Regions from separate parts of the Homo sapiens genome. Here all the other regions are linked to region 1. The links are contacts of gene promoters, found by promoter capture Hi-C in blood cells and fetal thymus (Javierre and others, 2016). All regions are on one chromosome and are shown on one strand. Each heading gives the region's core, a stretch centred on a gene start or on the middle of the fragment in contact. The rest is flanking DNA. Distances are from core to core; before and after follow the strand shown.

Region 1 (3,111 bases), core at 294-2,793:
AGGGAGGGAGGGAGGGAGGGGACTTGTTGCTTTTGAGGAAAATACTTGCTTTTTAGGAAAATTGGTCTGCTGGCAGTATGGAAAAGAAACCACTGAGGAGGAACATTTGAGCCAGGGCACCCATGAAAATGCTGCTCAGGAACCCACAGGAGTGATGGTGGCACAGCCAGGGAAGGAGCAGAGGGGAAACAGACAAGGGGACAGATTCCAGCGACATTTAAGAGGCAGAATAAAAGCGAGCTAGTGTGCAACTGGACGCGAGAGGAACGGAGGGGCCCAGGAGGATGCAGATCTCCAGCTTGGGCAACTGGGAGCGTGGTGGACAGGTCACTGAGATGAAGAACCCAAGATAACAATCAGACTTGAAGATAAAGCTCATGAGCTGATTCTTAATAGTCACAGAATTCCCTTAATTTTTGCCTTTTTTTCCCTTCCAAGACTCCCCAGACTTTTTTTTTTTTTTTTTTTTTTTGAGATGGAGTTTCGCTCTTGTTGCCGAGGCTGGAGTGCAATGGCGTGATGTTGGCTCACCGCAACCTCCGCCTCCCGGGTTCAAGCGATTCTCCCGCCTCAGCCTTCCGAGTAGCTGGGATTACAGGTATATGCCACCACACCCGTCTAATTTTGTATTTTTAGTAGAGACCGGGTTTCTCCATGTTGGTCAGGCTGGTCTCGAACTCCCGACCTCAGGTGATTCCCCCGCCTCAGCCTCCCAAAGTGCTGGGATTGCAGGCGTGAGCCACCGCGCCCGGCCAACTCCCCAGACTATTAATGACATCCTACAAAACGAGAAGCCGGGTTCTACGCTTGCACTGCTCCCTGTCCCGGAGACCGCACGCCCGAGCCCACCGAGGGGCCCGCCTCGAGCTCGGCGTCCTCCCAGGTTACCTCGAGCTCAGGGAAGCTGAGCACCACCAGGGAAGCACAAGCGCGGACACTGTCCCCTTTCACGAAGGACACGTCAACGCCCCCGACCCTCTGCAGACCCGAGAAGGCGGGGTCTCGCTGCCACGCCTCGGTGTCCCGGTCTACGACGTGGGCCTTCAGCCGAGCTTGCTCCCTAGGAGGACAGAAGCGTCAAACTTGGTCGGGGTCACACCTCAGACTCTGCCTCCTCCACCCGCGCGGCTGCAGCGGACAGAGCGCCTCTGCCGGGTCTTCTCCCGCTTCAAGGGAAAGCAAGGGACATACCGCCGAGGCCACAGTCCCTAGGAGCCCAGGCGGCGGAGACCCGCGCAAGCGCAGGCCAGACAAACTGGCCGGAAGCGAGAACCGCGCCCACCCCGCGGACTACAATTCCTGAGATCCCTCCGCTTCCGCGCCGGAAACTGGGCTTTGCTTTGGAGTCTCGGGCGGTGGCAGCTCCGATTCCACAGCCTGAAGACTATGAGCTCGGAGGGTCCGCGAAGGGCCGCCCGGCCTCGGCCCCCGCCTCCTGCGCGTCGCCTGACAGCATTACCGTTTCCACAGTGACAGCGTTTCCTCCGGCGGCCCTCCCGCCGCCTCCAGGGCCATGGCTTCGTCCCGGGCACCCCTTCCGCACGTCACTTCCGGAAGCGACTCGCTCTGACGCCGTCCGCCCTCGTTGCCATGGAGACGCTTGCGCTTTCCCGGGCCGCACTTCCCACCCGGGTCTTCAGAAGCCCGTGGCCGCTGGGTGAGCCCCTGCGTGAACGCACACGCACGCACACGGCTTCAGGTTGCCCCGCGGCGCCGCGCGCGATATCGGCTCGGATCCCGGGAGGCCGTCCGCCCCTTTTTCAGCGGATAGCTGAGGCCAGGTAAGTGACCGCGCGAGGACCCGGGAACTCCGTGACGCCCGTCCCGCCTCTGCTGTCCCCGCCGCAAGCGCTGCGCTCTGCACGGCGAGAGGGGCCTCTTGCCCTGTTGAGAGCCGGCGGGCACGGCACTTCTGCGCTTGGAAAAGGGTGGTCCAGCACTGCAGGTCCCACTCCTTGGCCCGGTCAGCGTCCGCCTTTGCTGAACCCCGAAAGGATTCACCAGGTCCAGGACAGCCCGGCAGTTGCCTCAGGAGCACTTACTGAGCGCCTGTCGTTGACGCCCCCACCTCGATGGCAGCTCAGGGGTGCCCTCAAGCTTTTGAGGGCAGGTGTCGTGTATTTAAATTCTTCACAGTTTAGCGGGCTGGACTCACGGGGGTGCTGCAGACTTGGACGGGGTTTCATCTGGGTCGGACCTTGCTGGGCAGAAAGCTTCTCCTACCAGACAAAGTACGGCGACCTTGGGGGGTCTTGGTTCTTACCTCGTGTTCCTCATTGAATGAGTGTTGGTTCAGTGCTCTCGCTGTGCCAGGTGTTGTGCGAAGTACTGTGAGGGAGAATATGTATTTATTTGTGGGGAGCCGACTTTAAACCGGTGGTTGGGAAAGGCCTGAGAGGCGATATTGAAGACACCTGAAGGGTGAGTGAAAGAGCACGGCGGGTGAGTGGAGCAGCTTTCTCGTGCAGGTCCCGGGGTGGGAAAGAGGTTGGTGTATTTGAAGCACTGAAAGGCAGCCACTGAAGCTGAAGTGTAGCAGTTTAACCCATGGTTTTATATTCTCCTGGGAGGATTCAGAAGGGTGTATGTGTGTATGTATATATAATAGCCTGAATATAAACGTCAAGGGTGTTAGGTTTTGAAGGGAAGGTGAAGGTTAAAGAATGACGCACAGTGAGATTGCCGGCGCGCGGGCGGCTCTACAGCAACACAGGTGTATTGCAAACACCTGTCGGGGGCCAGCTTAATGCCAGAGCCCACCAGCGATTACAGGCTGGGGTACTCATAGGCCTGGGCAGGAGGGATCTAGGCAGTATGGCTTGCTGTCCGGGAAGATGTTAACGTGTTCCCAGGATGAGGTGGTTCCGGCAGAATGTGGTGTTCCTGGCGCTTTGTCCCAGCAGAATATGTTAAGAGGCAGGCTGTTTCTCATGGCTCGAACCCCCGTGGAATGTTTCACTTTGACCAAGGTCTACAAAATGGAAAGGGGCTTACAAAATGACGCAGTTTGGACTAACAAAGGGGAAAATACAGAGGATGAAATTAGACTCTAGAGGTTGAGGCTCAGGAAAGGCTTCATACAGCTTTGGGAACTGACAAGGCTTTGAAAGC
Region 2 (3,111 bases), core at 201-2,700, 490 kb before region 1:
GCATAATGAAAACATTAACTTAATTGACTGGCTATTTTCAACAGGCCAGTAGCACATAAAAGAAACCTGAGGAGATGGCCTGCTGCCTGGGGATGAACGTCTCCAGGTGCCCGTGCAGCTGGCCACACCACACGGTGACGAAGGAGGTGGCAGAATCCGCTGCAGGGATGCGGTGACGAAGGAAGTGGCAGAGTCCGCTGCAGGAGGGGAGGCCGGTGCAGAATTAAACAATCTGGACCTTTCCAAGTTGGCCAATAGGCTACTTGTGACTATACCGGTGATACCATAAAGAACAGGCCAGGCGCAGTGGCTCACGCCTGTAATCCCAGCACTTTGGGAGGCCGAGGCAGGCGGATCACGAGGTCAAGAGACCGAGACCATCCTGGCCAACACGGTGAAACCCCTCGTCTCTCCTAAAAATACAAAAATTAGCCGGGTGTGGTGGCTCACGCCTGTAGTCCCAGCTACTTGGGAGGCTGAGGCAGCAGAACTGCTTGAACCTGGGAGGCGGAGGCTGCAGTGAGCTGAGATTGTGCCACTGCACTCCAGCCTGGCAACAGAGCAAGAGAAAAAAAAAAAAAAAGAACTGAAGAAGAACCAACTGCAGACGGTAAGGTGATTTCCATCTAAGATATAACTAGACCAACAGAAAATAACTTAGTTGAAGGAACCGAAAGCCACAGAAGTATAATATCAGCAAAAGGAGCTGAGGAGCTGCAGGAACCCTGGCTCGATGGCCGGCCAGGACCCAGAAGGCCACAGCAAATGAGAGGGGGAGACTCGATAGCTCATTTGGAAAAAGCGATGGACTAGGATGGGAAGCCGTGGCTCCTCGACCCTGCAGACCCTGGCACTGAGTGATACCCGAGGCAACGCCATAGCCGTGACGAGGTCAGATGAAGACGTAGAACACCACAGAGGCTGCAAGAGTGTGGCCTTTCCCTGCATTCTTCCTGCAACATTTCTGTAAGCTTTTGAAGTTTTATCAAAAAGTTACCAAAAAATTTTTAAGTGCTATAATGAGTGACTTCTAATTCCACATAAATCATCCAACTTCCATAAGCAACTAGAAAACCAGGACAAATACCGTAAACAATTGTTTTTGGACACTGGGTGCTGGGTGTCACGGGCTTGTGATCCCTGAGAGAACGGAAATAAACAGCTGCCCTGTGTCCGGCTTGCAGGTAGTTTCAGGCAGTCCCAGGCCACAGTGCAGAGACGGGGAGCCCAGCACTTTCAGGGAACAGGAGACAGAGACTGGGGCTCCAGGGAGGCTGAGGTGGTGACAATTTGCAGGACAGAGCACTGGAGAGGGGAAAGCTTCCAAGGTCTGCAGGAGAGGCCCCTGGGGTCTTTGACTAAGTATTCATCTGCTCAAGGGTAGAGTGACAACCCATGAGGCAGAGAAAAAACAGCGGGAAGGCGGTAGGCCAAATGCCCAGAGCTCACAAAAGGGACTGAGAAGAGTTTACAGTCCCCAAAGAGAAAGGACTAAAATCAATGACCTCTGCTTCTACCTTAAGAAACTAGGATGAGAAGAGCAAATTAAACTCAAAGTAAGCAGAAGAAAGCAAGCTTTATTGATGAAAGCTCAATCAATCAAATGGAAAATGGACAAACAACAGAGAAAAACCAATGAAACCAAAAACTGATTCTTTGAAAAGTTCCCTTGAGCTAGAATGGCCATGAATAAGAAACCATTAACTAGAAGGGTTTTGAATGAGTCAAAAATTACTGCTATCAGAAAGGGAAGAAAAGTCTGGGTGTGGTGGCTCATGCCTGTAATCCCAGCACTTCAGGAGGCCAAGGCAGGAGGATCACTTGAACTGAGGAGTTAGAGACCAGCTTGGGCGACACACTGAGACTCTGTCTCTACAAAAAATTTAAAAATTAGCCGGGTGTGGTGGTGTGCACCTGTAGTCCCAGCTACTTCCAAGGCTGAGGTGGGAGGATTGCTTGAGCCCAGGAGTTGGAGGCTACAGTGAGCCGTGATCAGGTCACTGCATTCTAGTCTGGACAGAGTGAGACTGTCTTACAAAAACAAAAAACAGGTGCAGTGGCTCACGCTTGTAATCCCAGCACTTTGGGAGGCTGAGGCAGGAGGATCCCTTGAGCCCAGGAGTTCAAGACCAGCCTGGGCAACACAGGGAGACCCCATCTCTTATAAATAATTAAGTAAAGAAAGAAAAAAAAAATGGAAGAAGGGCCAGCACTGTAGCTCACCCAGACACCAGAGGATCCTGAAAGATAATGTCAGTCCTCCCCTAATTGCCTTGACAGGCATCAGTAAATCCAGCACCCTCTGCCCACGTGGGAGCTGCACAGACACAGTTTGGGGTGTACTGTGTACATCTCCAGATTTAAGATATTTGCTGAAGCTCGTTTTGTTACTTTCTAAACTGTGGTGTGGACCCGGGCACACCTGGAGTTCCTGGCATGCATACTCGTAACCGAGAACCAGCAGCTGGAGCGCGGTGGGGAGCGCCCGGCACGTACCTTGTAGGCGATGCTGTTGAGTACTTTCATGGCCACGTCCGAGACCTCTGGATAGGGGTCAGCAGCCAGGTGCAGCAGGACTCTCCAAATCTGAGTGTAAACACTGTTAAAGGAAACTCCTGAGAGAGAGAAATGGAAGATGTTTTAGTGGAAAGTAGCTGCCAATGAGGCTCCTAAGGCGGCTGCATTTTCTGAAACCCTAACCCTGGTATCAGAAGTGTTGCTTTAAAGAGCCGAGGTTACAGGAAGCCCCCATTTTGTTATTCTGGCAACGGGTCCCGAGATTCAAGAATCCTAGCTGATCACTAGGCTTGATCACATGGATTCATCTACTGAGGCCAAATCTTTCTAAAAGGAAAACTGCGTTGGAAAGGGTGTAACTTTCCTTGAAATGCCTCAGCGGATCGGAGGGCATGACCACACTCCCGGAGGAGCGTCTGATGTCACATCCTAGATTTCTAGGAGCTGCCGCAGCCCATGGGTAGTGGTGCATGTGGCATGGACGTCTGCACTGCACCAAGTTCAGCACGTGCTGCTGTGCACTGTGACCCAGGGAGTGCTTCCTGCCCACCTCCACGTGCTTCCTGTCCACCTCCAGGCACTGGCCCTGCTCTG
Region 3 (3,111 bases), core at 285-2,784, 480 kb before region 1:
GCGACAGCACGGATGTTTCCATAGGAGCTCACAGAACGAAGTCTGGGGGTGCACGGGCTGTCTCGCACTGGGGTCAAACTCCCTCCCTCTGGGAAAGAAGGAGAAAGACAAATTACAATGGGCTTCCAGGTGGAGGCCAGCGTGTCTTCTGACACTCAGCAGCTGGGACACTCGGTGACGGCAGCTGCTACCTGTGCTGCAACAAATGTCAGAGCAGGGGCTGCACAGCTCAGGGAGACTCAGACGTGAGCGGAGGCTCTGCGGGATAGCACTGGACAAACAACAACCGCTTGTGGCTCTGTGCATATTAAATTACAAAAGACAACAGGGGAGAGGCTGGTGGCTGCGGCCTGTCCGAGTGCACACGAGGTGCATGGTGACGTGGGCCGTGAGCCGTGCTCCCCGGGAAGCCGCAGCAGAGCAATGACCGTCCACACTCAGTCTGGCTCACCCTTCTCCCCTCCTGGGCTTCCTAGAAGCAGTGAGGCCTCACTGCTGATGACAAGCCCCTGCACGGCAGAGACGGCTGTGTGGAAGCGGGAGGGGCTGCCGGCAGCGATGAGATAGGAACTGTACTCTCCAGTCAAAACGACACGTGTGAGAAAGCACGCCTGACATGACTCACCGAGCCACGGAGCCAAGAGCAGTGTGATGAAATTACTCATCGCAGGAAGACGGCCCCTGCGCTTTTCCGCAAGCTCCTACTGCAGAAGTTTTGTCATACTTCAAGGTCTCTGTGAGTTTAATTTCCAAAAAGGGTAAAAAGAAAGGAAAAATGTAAGAGGGTCAGTGTGGCCCTCTTTCCTGCCCTTTTAAATCTGGCAGGTGCCTAAAAAGATGAGAAAAACAGGGACCCCTTGCGGCAGGTATCTGAGAAACCTGCGCTTAGACTCTGCGAGGGTGAGCAAGACTGGGCCGCGGCCTGCACTAGAACCGCCAGGCGAGGTGCTCTGCGGGTTCACAGGAGAAGACGCCATACCTGTGGTTGCTGGAGAAGGCAAGGCGTAGTTCTTTTCCTCTTCTATGAACTGCAGGGCCACGGTGCAGAAATTGCTTTCATACTGAACCACAAGATGACTCAGAGCCACCACCAGCTCCTGCCGAGAGGGAGAAGGGACAATAACAGTCACTGGGGCTGGAAAATGATTGTGGAGCAGCAGTGAGACTTGAGTCACCAACAGAAAAAAGAAAGGTTAAGACAAAACCGTGCAATTGGCATCAGAAACAGGGACCATCCCTTTTCGAACCGTCAGAGCAGAGGCCTTGGAATAGCAGAGTGCTGGGAGACGGCAGGCCACTGGCTCACGGGGGAAGCCCAGAATGCCTGCCAGAATCCTCCCCACTGCTAGAGGCGCACGACGCATCGGGGGTCTCGTAAGGACACGGTGAGTCACAGGACTCCAGAGAGGGAAAGGTAGGAGGCCTCACAGCCTCTCGCTTACGGTGACCACTGGGACCCTGGCTGAAAACGCCGCTCTAGATCACACCCGATGGCTGGCGGCCTTTCTGAATCTGAGCGCCCCAGGGCCGAGTGCAGCGGACAAGCCGAAGCCTGCTCTTTTCAACACATGTGAAACTTTCATTGGTAGATGTTTCTAGTCCCTAAGAGGGAACGGGAAAAGTTGTAGAACTAAAACATCATCTTTAGGACCAAATGCCTTGGTCCAAGGGAACAGACACAATTTGCCTCTCTTTTAGGACAGTTCAGTGCTGTGACAGGAACAGCTGGAGATCCTAGAAGTCACTGGGGAACAGAAGGGGGATGTAGGTTTAAAAAGCGGAAAGAACGTTTTTTTCCCTACGACAACTTTTTCTGCCTTTTTTTTTTCTGAAAAGAAAAAATACGGATTCTTAGCAGAAAGCCAAGCGCTGTGAGAGGACCCCTTGCTAGTCGCGTGACGCCCCTGTCTCCACAGCGGCTGGATGAGCAGGCTCTGGATGGGCGCCCACCAGGGACCAGGGTCTTCTCGTGGCCACCCCACTCTCCGTCTACGCACTCTCTGTACACGCACTTTCCCACCCCAGCCTTACATGCCCCGGGCTTCCTCCTATCATGCTTTGTGGTTTCCCTGATGCCGGCCCCTCACTCTCCTAGGTCCAGGCTGGCTGTCCAGCTGCCGGCTCTTCACCTGCACCCCAAACTCTCCCTGCCCTATGAACTGCGGGCACCGTCTACTTTCCCTTCAGCCTGCAGCGCCCTCTTGATTTGCGCCGATGGAACTGCAAGTCTCTCACTGCTCAGAATGGAGCCCTGGCATCACCCTCCACCCGCCCCTCCCACCCTGCTGGGCACCAAGGGCCATGGCCCAGTGTGCGTCTTCACGGCCATGGCCCACGCCCCGGTTCTGGCGCTCGTCTCCAACTGCCTAAGTCACTGTCCCAGGCTCCCCTGGCAAACCACAGAACCCCCGCTGCCTTCCCTGTGCAAGAGGAGTGAGGCACTGCCGAGACGGGGCCTCCGACAAAGCGAACACCCACTGGGCCCCTTCCAGGGAAGATCAAGGCTGCACCTGTCTTCAGAAAGCACCGATTTTTTTCCCTTTCCTTCTGACATCAGGTGAGAAAAGCCAGAGCTGGGAGCTGGCATGGATTAACGTGCACCGAGGTGGTGGGCCCTTCGATTCAGGGGAGGCCAACAGGGGCCACGTCTGTTATTCAAGGGGAATGTCCAGAGAGCACTCACTCCCGAACACACATCCTGCTGCGCACGGGGCCTCCCTCGGGGGCCGCACATCCCTCACTCCTGAACACACATCCTGCTGCATACAGGGGCCTCCCTCACTCCCGAACACACATCCTGCTGCGTACGGGGGCCTCCCTCGGAGGCCGCACATCCTGCTGTGTACGGGGGCCTCCCTCGGAGGCCGCACATCCTGCTGCGTACGGGGGCCTCCCTCGGAGGCCGCACATCCTGCTGCGTACGGGGGCCTCCCTCGGAGGCCGCACATCCTGCTGCATACGGGGGCCTCCCTCGGAGGCCGCACATCCTGCTGCGTACGGGGGCCTCCCTTGGAGGCCGCACATCCTGCTGGAGATGGCGGGCCTCGCTCTGGAGGCTGCTGCCTGGCACACAGCAAAGAGCTCTCCTTTGCGTTGGACCCTTCCTGCCCT
Region 4 (3,111 bases), core at 241-2,740, 400 kb before region 1:
AGAGCTTCCCACGAGGTCCCACACCCCAGCACTGTCACTGGATGGCCAAGCCATCAAGATAAACGGAGGCCAGATAGGACCAGTGTGTACTTAGTTGTGTTTTTACAAATTGGTATCTTGTGATGATCACCAGTAAATAAATGCAAAGCTAGACTCTCCCAACATGGTCCTGAAAATCCCACTGGTCTCTTCCCTAAGCTCATCGTGAAACCAGACAGAGTCATCTGCCCAGCCGACTTCAGACAGACCCAGAAATCATTCAAGTCGATGAACCAACCATCCAGTGAGCAAAAGCTGATGAGGCTTCTTGATCCAGCAGGCCTGGTCCTACTGGGGGTGACAAGGTGGAACCGAGTCCAGCATCCCTCACTTTTCACGTCACATAAAATTAAATCCTTGCAGAAACGATTTGTTTCTGATTTCCTTTCTGTACCTGATCCTAACCAATGCTGAGTCTTGCCCAACTCGGGAGGCCACTGAGATCACGAGGGGACCACAGAAGAAGCCTATTGGTGTATGTTGTCCATGTCAGACCATGTTTCATTCTAGAAGTTTCTCTGAACCCTCAAAGGGTTAATGATCAAGGTGGCTCTTTTAAAATTTAAATTCAGAGTGTTAATCAAGGACTTCTATGTGAAAACTGTAAAAAGCTACAGTTCAGGAAAAGACTCCTGAATTGGGAGACAAGAAAACTCAAGCGCTGGTCCCAGCCGTGCTATGGCTGGATGACTCGTGGTACCTGTTTCTCTGCTGAGTCAACACAGCTGACCCTGATGCAAAATGGCGACTAAAATAAAACAGATGACACTCCAACAACAGATGTGGCAGATGCCGGGGTGGCCCCCCAACAGGGCCCGCGCCTCCTCAAACTCTCCTTCACTGCCATTGGCAGGAGGGTTTATCTCCACCTTCCCCCACACTTCCGGGCTCACCTGTGGCATGCGGTTTCTTGCCAGGATTTATCTTCCTTACTGCAACATCCAGGTCATCATGATGACCCCGGCCCTGCTAGACTCTGGCAGAACTTCAGCATCCACACCCCATTTGTGCAACCACTGTAGAGTGCCAGGCCAGCTCCGAAATGCCAAGCAGGTGCCCTTCCCCTAAGGCCCCTTCTTCTTCCCTGACACCCCTGGCTGTCCCCACCACCACCCTCTGCTGGGAACTTGTCACTCAACAAGAGCTGCTGTGTCTCCAGCCCTCGCCTTTGATTCTCCACCAGATGCCTGAGGGATCACAGCCCATCACAGTCACTCTCCCAAGGGTGCTCCCTCCCCCACCCCTTCTCCCGGACCTGCCCGGCTCCCTGTCATTTGCCCCATCACTCTGCCTGCTCCCCACTTCCAGCATGAGGTGCCACCCACTCCTTGGGGCCCTGTCCCTCCCCGGTTCACTCACAGGTGCCCACGTGGCAGGTGCTTGCCTCCCAGTCTCTCCAGGTTCCTGCTCTCACCTGGATTCTCGGGGGCGCCTTCAGCTCCGTCTGCACTCAGGAGACGCAACACATGATCTCCTCCCCATGGGGTGGCCGCCTCACTGCCGTCCCTGGCCCCATCCATGCAGAGGACAAGGACAAGGGGCTGTGAGGTCATCAGGATGTCTCCCCTGCAGAACCCCCAGCCTTCCTTTTCCTTCACTTCCAGGCCTAAACTTGGGAGCCAGACAGACGGGGGCTTGAATTTGGCCAGAGACTGGCTCTGTGACTGTGGACTAGCTGCCCAGCCTCTCAGAGGCTTGGATTTTCTTCAGCATGAACATTTACACTACCTCCACCACCGCTGCCAGCTGGGCACTCATGCCGTGCCTCCCGCTGTGCGGCTCGGTGGACCCAGGCCCCCAAGTCACCCACCTGCCAAGTCCACCAAGACTTCCTTCCCAATGCCCACGCCAGGCAGGTCTTATGTTCACTTGCTTTTCAGATGGAGAAACTGAGGCTCTATGAGGGTGTGTCTTCCACTAGAGACAAGTGGCAGAAACCAGACCCAGACCCCGCAGCCGCCTCGCAGGAATGGGAGGACCAGGGATGGGCCGGGGAGACCACTGGCTGCTGGGGCTCAACATGCAGTGGCCGCTGGGGCCTTATGCCTGTCTACCCTGGGGAAAACCCATGTGGCCCTGAAGCTGGCACTAGCTAAGCTCTCCTTGGCCCCCGTAGGCTCCTCTTACCTGCCATGCGAAAGCTGGTTTCTGTCCTCACCGCCCTTCCAAGCCACCTCCTCCCAAGCCCCCTCACTCCAGTGGCTGGCCAGCCTTGCCTTTCTTCATTTGCTGAATCTGCAAATCCTGACTGTCTCTCCCCTGGCACCCGGCTCCTCCCTTAGTGACCTCTGGGAGCACTGCGTCGCCAGCTCTTTTCACACCCCAGGATCTGCTCCAGCGGCAGCCCTGCTCCTTCCAGGTCTCACGACAAGGCGCTTCCCTTCACCCTCGGCTTGCCTGGCATCACAGCTCAAGCGGAACGTGTGTAAAATCAAGTGCAATGCCTCCATCTTCTCCACTGCTGGTCCCCACTCCAAGAGTCCCTGTGGATTCGCGTTTCACTGAGGCTCGAAACCCCGGAGGCCCCAGGCCCTCAGCTGCTCTCTGGTCCTGCACTGGGGCCAGCCAGGCCTCCCAAAGATGCCTCTTCCCACCTCCTCTGCGGCACCCTGCAGCCAGGCCTGCCAGGCGTCCAGACAGCATTCTCGGGCCAGGCCCTTCTGCCCTGGCTCACGCTACACAGGCTGATGGCTCTTAACACACAGCTGGGCCCCCAAACATACAAGGTTCTCCACTGATCATTGTGGTGGTTTTCCATTACTTTTTAGCTACTCAAACAAAATCTTATGCAGGACAAAGGAAAGCAAAACTCCTCTGGCTGGAGGAGTGAGGGCCAAGAGCCCAGTGGCTCTCCGACTGCCTGCGTAGAAGCTGTGTCCACGCCCCTCGGGTCTCGAGAATCGCTCCGTGGAAGCCACCTCGCCAGTCGGGAGGATGCTCTGCACGTGATGGACTGTCCAGCCCTGATTGACGGGGCACGTGGAAGCCACCTCGCCAGTCGGGAGGATGCTCTGCACGTGACGGACTGTCCAGCCCTGATTGACGGGGCACGTGGAAGCCACCTCGCCAGTC
Region 5 (3,111 bases), core at 1-2,500, 370 kb before region 1:
AATGTGTGAGCATGACAAAAATACTCTCAGAGGCACATATGGCCTCAGAAGACTTGTCACAAAAAGACTCATGAGGAAGACACTTTCAGATGACAAGCTAAAGTTAGAGGGGAGAAAACTCCAAGAGACGCTGAAGGGGATCTATGAAGTAATGATGACACACAAACTTGTTAACATTTGTAGTCGTCCTAAAATGAAAAGCAAAAAGGTGGGGGCAATATCCATCATAACCAGGATTGAAAACCTAGATATAAATCCACAAGAGCATTAAAAATCCAATAGAAAAATGGATGAACAGACATCTCAAAGATGAGGACATAACTATGGCCACTGAACGTGAGGAAATGTTCAACATCATGCGATATGAGAGAAACGCAAATCCAGGCTACACGAGATATCATTCTAAACCTACTCAGCAAAAATGTACAAGAATGGCAATGCCAAGAACTAGAAAGGATGTGGATCATAGGCTGTCTCCATCACCACTGTAGGAGTGTAAAATGGCACAACCACTGGGAAAGCACCTTACCATGATCCCTTAAAACTGAATGTTCCTATACACTATGATCCGGCAACTCTGCTTTTCAATATATAAGAAATTCTTGCATGTGTTCAAAAGAACACACAGAAAAGAATGTTCAAAGTATCTCTGTTGGTAATAGCAAAAATAAAATACAATACACCAAAGCAAAGCAAAACAAACAAATAAAGGAAGAAGCTGAAAAAGCTCAAGTGTCCATTAAGGAGTAGCAGGTGCACACAGTGTGGCATATTCGCAGAGTTAGACGGGGGTACTCTAGCTAAACACACATCAATATGGAGGAACATGAGCAACACAATGCTAAGTGGGAAATGTCCACATTCCAACCAAAAGTATTTTTTTAAAAGAGTCCTCAAAATCACATTCAGCACTAAAGCCTTTAATAAATTTAAAATCTGAAAGAAAAGTAATGGTCTTAATGAATACACACAGATGCATAGTAGCAATGTAGAAAGGGCATGGAAGGGATGATGAGCCCGGCACTCAGGGCGGTGGTCACAGGGCGGGGGCGGCAGGTGCGTGTGCATCAAGGGCGCCCTGCGTGGTGGGCGCAGGTCATCATCAAGGGCTGGGTTTTGGTTGGGTGGTGGTTTGAGGAAACCCATTATGCTATAAAAATACCTGTTAATTAACTGCTTAAAAGGAGGCCAAATATGGACTAGTGATGAGTGTGGCATGAAGCAAGAATTGTGACGGATCCAGGCTGGGTACGCAAACAAGTGGCTTCAAGATTTTTATGATGTTAAATTAAGTTTCGCCTAAAGGCTGCCTCCGTACATGTTTTATGTTTGGCCTAATGGTTCCATATACATGGTGAACTGTAACCCAACCTGATGTATAAACAGCCTGGTCTTGTGACAGGCAGCTGAGTCTCAGACTACCACAGGCAGCCAACTGTTCGAACTGGGCTCAAGCAAGGCAGACCCCCTGCGGTAGCCAATCCAGCTGCTGCGGCTCTTCCATTCTCCGGAGTCACTTTCGTTTCTGCCCATGAATGGTATCCAGCCACATGGCAGTGCCGGTGTCACTCTGAACCTACTCTGGTTCTGGGGCTGCCTGATTCAAGAATGGTTCTTTGCTCAATTAAACTCTGTTGTATTCAATTTGCCTAGAGTTTTCTTTTAACAATGAAGAACAAATTAATGTTCAGCTCGGTAACCTTGTCAAATATCATACAAATAACTATTGAATGCTGTTTTCATTTTTGAGAATGAAAATTCCTTTGTTTCCTCCTAATTAAAAAAAAACCCACATGTATTTACCATAAAAAAGTGAAAAATTTGTATAAACCCACCATGTTGAGATAGCTTAGCATTTTCATATTTATCTTTTACACAACACTGAATCATGCTGATTTATTTTAGAATAAAAGCAAATGGCGGTCACTATAAAAACCCAAATCATACAGACATGTGTCACGCAAAAGTGCGTCAGTCTAACTTTCACTCTCCCACCCCACTGTGCAGAAGCGGCCTCTGCTATGACCTTCAGGACTTGGTCCGGGCATATACAGTCATCCCTGGGTATCCCTGGGGGACTGGTTCCGGGACACCACCACCCACCCCACCTAGCCACTCCTCTCCCCATGGACAGACGCTCTATGAAAACTCCTGAACAAGGAGAGCTTCCCGGTTAGAAGGTGAACACACGATGTGCTGGAGTGTGGCACCCCCCTGCTCTCGCCAACATGCAGAGTCCCCCCTTCTCTAGTGGTGAAGACATAAGTGGCTTCCCTGGAGGTCTCGCCATCAGCATTCCCTGTGCAGTTCCTCGGCAAAGGAGAGGAAAAGGCCCTCAAAACACATCCCCATCATGACTGTCATTGTCACTGTGAGAGCTGATCATACAAACTGGGTCATTCTTGTCATACCCAACTCAGTCAGAGTCAAGGGGCCGGGGGAAAGCACTCGGGCCACAAAACATTCCTCCAGCAATGTAGTTCTCTGCCAGCCTGGCCGCGGAAACTGCCTGCTGCCACTTGAAACCAGTTTTCACTAATGGCAACCGACACAACCTGCTGTGATTCGAGGACTCATTTCACCCACTCACCAGTCGGGAACCTGCCAGCTCCCCAGAAACCTCACTAGTGCCGAAGAACCTTCTCAAAGAGCAACACGAAACAGTTCTCCTCTTTTTAAAACTGCCAACCTTTTATTTGTTCATCAAGATATACTGAAGACCACCTGGTCTGCCTGTATGCCTTCGACTGTAAATCTTGCTTCCCAAATAAAATGTTTTACATTTAGAGATTCATCACTATATTTTATCTGACTTTGACTCCAGTCCCTAATATCCCTGCTCATTTTTAGCCTTTGGTAGTTGCTTTTCTGTATCCTGACCAGAGCTTTTCTTTGTAATGAGCGGGACAGAGAGGCTGTAGGTGGCTTACTTCACCTTAGCTGGCACGTGAAGTCTCTAGAATTTACACTGATGAAGGTGTCACTGAAGCTTTCACAGACTTGTGCATTTTAACCTAGTCATACAGAGATACAGCAAACTGCTGGAGGTGTCTGGTTTTAAATATTCTTTTTCACAAAAGGAATTTTCAAATATAGCTCAGAGTGGCAATA
Region 6 (3,111 bases), core at 260-2,759, 350 kb before region 1:
ATGCCACCCTCCATACAGGTCTATGTGACAGCACGGTTCTGGCGTTCCAACAATGATGCCATCAAGAGGCATTATCGATTCGATCTCAGCACAAGTAAAATGAGGATGAAAATGGCTTCCGCAATATACTGTCCAGTTTAGCACAAATCAAATGATCGCTTTTTTATTTAAAAAAGGGTCATGAATGCCTGCTATTAAATACGGAGCTGAATGCACTGACAGTTTTTGCATGCAATGTGACCTAACGTCACTGATTAAATATGGAGGCATGAGCACGCTTAGGCACATAAATCAAACAAGAAGCCAAACTGCCACTAAAATGCCCAGAAGTTTAAGAAGAAGATACAAAGAGGCAAATAAGCAGTTAATATGTCACCGTGTGATGGGGATATAAGTCAGTCGATTAGTAGGTATGATTTCAAACAAGTCCTGAAGCTAATCTGGAACATAGTGATGATGACATCAAGCAGGAGACAACAAATGACTTTCTTCCCATGAGACACGGACAGTGAGGAGGCCTGGGACAGGCAGGAGTGAGGCCGGGGCTGAGCACTCTTTCCCGTGCAGTATTTCACCCAAGCTGATTTCCGAGGATTACATGAATAACTCAGTAGCTATGAGAGCCCAACTGTGGGCTGAACTGCACAGTCTTAATTCTTTTCTGAATGCTCCTTTTATGTTAAAAGGATACTCTGTGTATACTTGCTACCCTTGAGTCCTCCAGATACATTACACACGGATGCATTCAAACTCTCACAAAAGTCTTTGGGACTCACTAAGCGGCCTACTGAGACCCCAAGTGAGATCACGCACTCCATGGTTCTCCCGTTAGACAGACATGGGAGAAGAGGAAATGTGAGCCAACAGTAAATGACTAGAAGGTAAGTCCCAACGTGAACCAAAAATATAAAGGCAAGCTGCTCTTAAAAAAAAATTCACGTGGTCAGGCGCGGTGGCTCACGCCTGTAATCCCAGCACTTTGGGAGGCCGAGGCGGGCGGATCACGAGGTCTGGAAATCGAGACCATCCTGGCTAACATGGTGAAACCCCATCTCTACTAAAAATACAAAAATTAGCCAGGCATGGTGTTACGTGCCTGTAATCCCAGCTACTCAGAAGGCTGAGGCAGGAGAATCACTTGAAACAGGGAGTCAGAGGTTGCAGTGAGCTGAGATTGCACCACTGCACTCCAGCCTGGCGACACAGCAAGACTCTGTCTCAAAAATAATAAAATAAAATAAAATCATAAAAAAAAAATTCAAGTAACACTTTTTCTTAGGGAAGTAAGCTGATTTGTAAAAGGCCCCAGGTGCATAAAATTTGGTCAAATTAGTCAACAGTTAGGCAGTAACCTTGTAAAGATTTTCTTAGCTTTTACCATTACTAATTACACCGAGCCTTGGGACAGCAACTTAATATGGTCAGCAGATATTTAAACATTTCACAAAGGTTGTCTGTCTATTCTGTTCATCTTAAAGGTTTGGTAAAATTCACTAGTAAAGATATCTGGGTGCGGGGTTGTCTTTGAATGGTTGTTAACCAGAAATTTAATTTACTTAACAGATATATCCTATCCAAATTTTCTTTTTATTCTTCTGTCAGATTTGATAACTTGTGTCTTTCACAGAATTTATCCATTGCATCTAAGATGAAGAATTTACTGGCATATGGTCCTTCATGATTAAAATGATTCCCTTATTCTCCTTTTATTTACTTATAATTTTCATTTTTGGAGACAGGGTCTCACTCTGTGGTCTATGCTGGACCACAGTGACGTGATCACTGCACTGCTCACTACAGCCTCAATGCCTCCCAGTGATCCTCCCACCTCAGCCTCCCAAGTAGCTGGGACTACAAGCGTATGCCACCACGCACGAGTAATTTTTATATTTTGTAGAGATGGGGTTTTGCTATGTTGCCCAGGCTGGTCTTGAACTCCTGGGCTCAAGCGATCCACCTGCCTCGGCCTCCCAAAGTGCTGGGATTATAGGCATGAGCCCCCGCACCTGGCCCCTTATTCTTTTAACATCTGTAGGATCAGTAAGGATGTGCCCTCTTTCATTTCTGATGAAAGTCATTTGTATCTTCCTTCTATTTTTCTTGAGCACTCTAGAAAAAGTTTTGACAATTTTAATGAACCTTTCAAAAACTATCAACTAGTTTCATGAATTTTTACAAATTTTGGGGTCAACTTCTGTTTATTTTTGCTCTTCTCTTTATTATTTCTTTTCTTCTACTTACTTAGGGTTTAATGTATTCTTTTTTTTCTGGACTTAAAGAAAAACTTAGACCATACATTTGAGAGTTTTTTAATTAAAAACTACAAATAGCATTAAATTTTGAGATCAATTATTGCCGGTACATGAACACCTAGTTAAGTAATGGTGCCTGTTTCTTTCCCTAGTGACAAACAGTGAGCTTACAAACAGCAGTAAGAAAGGGTACAGTGCACACCTCTAGGTGGACCTTTGCAAGCATTTCTATACACTATTAACAAAGGAAAAGAACTGCCAACTAAACAGGTATGTTACTTATTGTAAGATGCTTCTGGACCCCAGATATGTTAAGTGTGAAAACGCACATGCTGGGATCAGGCGTGGTGGCTCATGCCTGGAATTCCAGCACTTTGGGAGGCTAAAGCAGGAGGATCACTTGAGCCCAGGAGTTCAAGGATGCAGTGAGCTATGACTGTGTCACTGCACTCCCATCTAAGTAAAAGGGAGAGACCCTGTCTCTATTTTTTAAAAAAGGACCAGACATGGTGCCTCATGCTTGTAATTCCAGCACTTTGTAAGGCTGAGGTGGGAGGATCTCTTGAGCTTAGGAGTTCGAGACCAGCCTGGGCAACATGGTGACACAGTCTCTACAAAAGATACAAAAATTAGTCAGAATGGTGGCATACACCTGTAGTCCCAGTTACCTGGGGGGCTGAGGTGGGGGGATTGCTTGAGCCCGAGAAGTTGAGACTACGGTGGGCCGTGTTCACACCACTGCACTCCAGCCTGGGTGACAAAGCAAGATCACGTCTTAAAAAAAATTTAAAAAGTACATGCTAGAATCAGTGAACTATGTTAGATGGCCCTTACTGTAAACAGATAATTACAAATGTTC
Region 7 (3,111 bases), core at 324-2,823, 310 kb before region 1:
GGCCCAGTCCTGCTGGGGCTGGACCATCTCCACCTCCTAGCGTGCGTCCAGGAGGCAGCACGGCACAGGGCCATGGATGGCCCCAGTTGGTCTCTGCTCTAGGACTTTAAATTCTAAGAGGGGCTTTCACCCCGTAACAGCCACTGGGATGCTGCGCCACAGAACAGCTTTCCCAGCCCCGCCTGCTCTGGGAAGCCTGCTTGGATGTGGGCCTCTGTGGTCGCTTCTCTGTGAGCGGCGTCTGTCCCTCTCAGCACCAGGGCCATTTGGGGCCGGGCCGCTCCTTGTGGGGCTGCCCTGTGCACCACACAATCTTCCGCAGCACCACCCAGCCACCCCCACACCTAGATGTGACAATCTCCAGGTTGCTGGACATTGCCAAATGTCCCAGTGTCCCCTGAGGGGAAAAGTTTCCCTGGTTGAGAACCGCTGCCTTGGAGGAGAGGCGATTTCCTTTCAAACATGAGCTGTATACATTACAGTTAGTGAGACTGCAACAATTTGGAAGTCTGTATCCCTCAGGGAATATAAAACCAACTCTATTAAGCCACAGTGTGGAAAATGACCTTTGATAGCGAATCCTGATTAGAACACGGGATGCAGACCTCATTTCCCATCTCAGAGGTCCTGGGTCGTTTGTCAAGCTCCAGGCCAGAATTATGGCCCCTGCAAACCAGCAAAGGGCAGCCTGCAGCCTCACAGCCCCGGCTGCAGGGGCAGAAACAACGCCCACAGTAGAGTCACTCCTCGTTGTCCTGTGGAATATTCCTCTGTCATCCTGACTGCACCAACCCACACCAGCCCAGAATTGAAAAGCCCCCTGTATACACGGAAGGCTGCTTGGAACACTCAAGAGCTTGTGGCCAATGGTTTTCATTTCTTCTTGATCCAAAACTAAAAGTACAGAGAATAATTCCTAATCAAAGCGTCTCTTCTTTTTCTCCAAGAATCATATTCAAGGCCATGTTTTCTTTTCAAACAAAGAAATAGAAATGGGTTTTAGATAATTTCTTCATTACAATCCACTTTATCTGTCAGGTTATATTAAACATCAGGGGAAGAGTCCGCCTGCCTCACCAGTCTGTCGCCGCAGCCTGAGTTAGCCACCAAGGCAGCCATGGCCGGGAGAGCCCAGCCCACTGAAGCCTGCAGGCTGTCTTCCCACAGAGGGGCAGCCCAGCAGCCCGCCAGCCTCCAAGGAGCTTCCCACAATTCTACATCTCAGGGATTTCTGGTGGAAAGACTGAAACTGGGTTTTGGCTTAAGTTAAATGTGAGCGTTTTATCCCTTTAAATTACAGAGCAGAAGACAAAACGCAAAACCCCTCACATACCAAACAGATGAGTACAAAGAAGAGAACGGCATGTCCCAGGGGAGGCAAGGGGCGTGGTGGCAAGGCATGGCAGGAAGAAGCCCTGGCCTCAGCAAGTTTGCATCCCAGTGGGTGAGGTGGGCAGAACGACACGGTGCCGCCACCCCGTGCTCCAGCTGAAAAGGCAAGCGCAAGTGTCGTGGGGGCGGCTTCTTCTCCCACGGCCCCTCCTCAGATCCAGGCACAGCAGCTCTGACACTGCAGAGGAGGGAACGGGGGGCACACTGGGCAGGTGCAGACAGTCGCCCTCTGGAAGGGCAGGTGGGGTGTCCCAACCCCAACTCCAACCCACCACAGGCTGAGCAGGTAGATGTGATGAGCCTGGAAATTTCTGGCCTCACCACTGTTGGGATGGGAGAACCTGGCCTCGCCGCTGTTGCGATGGTAGAACTCGCAAGCATCTCTGTGGATAGCTGGGATACACAGGAAGACTGCCATCAGCTGAAGGACATGGATCTCCAGGTGGCCTTACCCAAACCTGATTTGGCCATTTCATTAGCCCTGCAAAGATACCATCCTACTTTATACAAACTGGGGTATTTAGCACCTACTAATCAGATCATAGCAGCATTTTCCTCAACATAAAGAAAAATGCCAACTATGCCAGGCAGTAAACATGAGGAAGGGGTGGGTTGCCATGTCTCCTCTCTCCTGACCCTTCCATCCTGGCACTCATGGCCCCCACCTCTCAGGACATGGCCTGGCTTCTCACTTAACAGGAGACAGGCTCCAAGGGGAACCAGCTCTCATGTCCAGCTTCAAAGCTCCACCACATTTGTATTCACCTCTCCTTCCCTCCCACGTCTCAGAGAAGAGTGCTTGGGCTTGCCAAGTCAAATGCTGTATCTCTGTCCTGAATTAATCTTCTCATACCTTCCCATTTCTCATCCTTTACTCCACTGATTTATACTTTCTTCAGCAACCCCCTTTCTCCTATCTACAAACATAAGTTACCTCTTGCAGAAACTAAACATCCCTGCTTAGCCTTGTTCTTTCTTCGAGGTCTCCCCAACAGACAGGCTCCTCTAATCACATGCTCTCTATGTATTTATTGCAAAAATTGTATTACAGAGAAAGCTAGAAAAAACAGTGTTATTCAGTAGTATCACCAAACTTCTGGAAAGATTAGTCTATTCCAGTCCCTAGTCCCTTACCTCCTGTTTAGTCATTAAAATCTAGTTTCCACACCTGTACATAGATACGCAAATCAATATGCATGTGTTTACAGCTTACTACACACAAATGCATCACTTAGCTAAGTCCACGGAGAGGGCCTAGGCCTAGTAACACTAATGCTCCAGTAGTAACGAGCACACAAAGAGGCCACATCTTGGTTTCTAAATCCCACTCTCAAAAAAGCCAAAGATCCTTGGAAAAATGGTTGATCCAGGGCTGTGGTAGAGAAAATGCTAGAAGGTGTGTCAGTGGTCAAAGTTGAAACAATTTCAGTAACAAAATAAATAATGATAATAATAATGGATTATAACCCAAGAAGTAAAATAAATATTAGTGGCTCCATATGGATATAAACAAACAACCAAGTAAATAAACAACAAGAGAAGCAACAATTCTTTCATACAGAAGAATTCCAGTTACTAAACGTGGAAGGAAATAGGGAGGTACAGCACCACCATTAGAACACCAGGATAGTAATTACACATGAATGTTAGAATTAGGGCATGGCAGTTTAAGGAGAAACAGGATATCTGCATACTCTCAAAGTATCTCCTTCAAATGCT

The links. The method cuts DNA at HindIII sites, captures the fragments that hold promoters and counts their contacts. A CHiCAGO score of 5 or more calls a contact.
Region 2: a contact is called between a fragment that was not itself captured here and the fragment with the promoter of ENDOV in region 1, in 15 of 17 cell types (activated CD4 T cells, naive CD4 T cells, naive CD8 T cells and 12 more). The highest score is 13.6, in activated CD4 T cells.
Region 3: a contact is called between a fragment that was not itself captured here and the fragment with the promoter of ENDOV in region 1, in 14 of 17 cell types (naive CD4 T cells, naive CD8 T cells, M1 macrophages and 11 more). The highest score is 14.3, in naive CD4 T cells.
Region 4: a contact is called between a fragment that was not itself captured here and the fragment with the promoter of ENDOV in region 1, in 2 of 17 cell types (M2 macrophages and M1 macrophages). The highest score is 7.7, in M2 macrophages.
Region 5: a contact is called between a fragment that was not itself captured here and the fragment with the promoter of ENDOV in region 1, in 1 of 17 cell types (M2 macrophages). The highest score is 5.8, in M2 macrophages.
Region 6: a fragment that was not itself captured here is called in contact with the fragment with the promoter of ENDOV in region 1 in 1 of 17 cell types (M2 macrophages); the score reaches 5.1 in M2 macrophages.
Region 7: a contact is called between a fragment that was not itself captured here and the fragment with the promoter of ENDOV in region 1, in 1 of 17 cell types (M2 macrophages). The highest score is 6.1, in M2 macrophages.

The regions. Positions count from the first base shown.
Region 1 is chr17:80,413,599-80,416,709 of GRCh38, reverse strand. ENDOV (endonuclease V) reads right to left here and starts at 1,543. Exons shown (of 10, transcript NM_173627.5): 1 at 1,460-1,543; 2 at 889-1,060. The coding sequence starts at 1,515. It overlaps RNF213-AS1 (RNF213 antisense RNA 1), which reads left to right and starts at 1,542. Exons shown (of 2, transcript NR_029376.1): 1 at 1,542-1,781. RefSeq lists an enhancer at 1,021-1,110. The HindIII fragment of the contact is 3,926 bases long and covers 1-2,099 here.
Region 2 is chr17:80,908,315-80,911,425 of GRCh38, reverse strand. It overlaps RPTOR (regulatory associated protein of MTOR complex 1), which reads right to left. Exons shown (of 34, transcript NM_020761.3): 21 at 2,497-2,615. Among named protein-coding and RNA genes, the nearest start is that of CHMP6, 82 kb to the left of the region's middle. RefSeq lists enhancers at 495-684, 805-1,034. The HindIII fragment of the contact is 255 bases long and covers 1,323-1,577 here.
Region 3 is chr17:80,889,706-80,892,816 of GRCh38, reverse strand. It overlaps RPTOR (regulatory associated protein of MTOR complex 1), which reads right to left. Exons shown (of 34, transcript NM_020761.3): 18 at 980-1,097; 19 at 1-88. It overlaps LOC124904075, which reads left to right and starts at 646. Exons shown (of 2, transcript XM_047437253.1): 1 at 646-2,557. The coding sequence starts at 2,073. The HindIII fragment of the contact is 9,458 bases long and covers 1-3,111 here.
Region 4 is chr17:80,815,814-80,818,924 of GRCh38, reverse strand. All of the region lies in intron 7 of RPTOR (regulatory associated protein of MTOR complex 1), which reads right to left. Among named protein-coding and RNA genes, the nearest start is that of CHMP6, 170 kb to the left of the region's middle. The HindIII fragment of the contact is 7,384 bases long and covers 1-3,111 here.
Region 5 is chr17:80,785,010-80,788,120 of GRCh38, reverse strand. All of the region lies in intron 6 of RPTOR (regulatory associated protein of MTOR complex 1), which reads right to left. Among named protein-coding and RNA genes, the nearest start is that of CHMP6, 210 kb to the left of the region's middle. The HindIII fragment of the contact is 3,482 bases long and covers 1-2,991 here.
Region 6 is chr17:80,765,992-80,769,102 of GRCh38, reverse strand. The region is part of intron 6 of RPTOR (regulatory associated protein of MTOR complex 1); the gene reads right to left. Among named protein-coding and RNA genes, the nearest start is that of RPTOR, 220 kb to the right of the region's middle. The HindIII fragment of the contact is 7,759 bases long and covers 1-3,111 here.
Region 7 is chr17:80,723,227-80,726,337 of GRCh38, reverse strand. The region is part of intron 4 of RPTOR (regulatory associated protein of MTOR complex 1); the gene reads right to left. Among named protein-coding and RNA genes, the nearest start is that of RPTOR, 180 kb to the right of the region's middle. RefSeq lists an enhancer at 1-566. The HindIII fragment of the contact is 6,253 bases long and covers 1-3,111 here.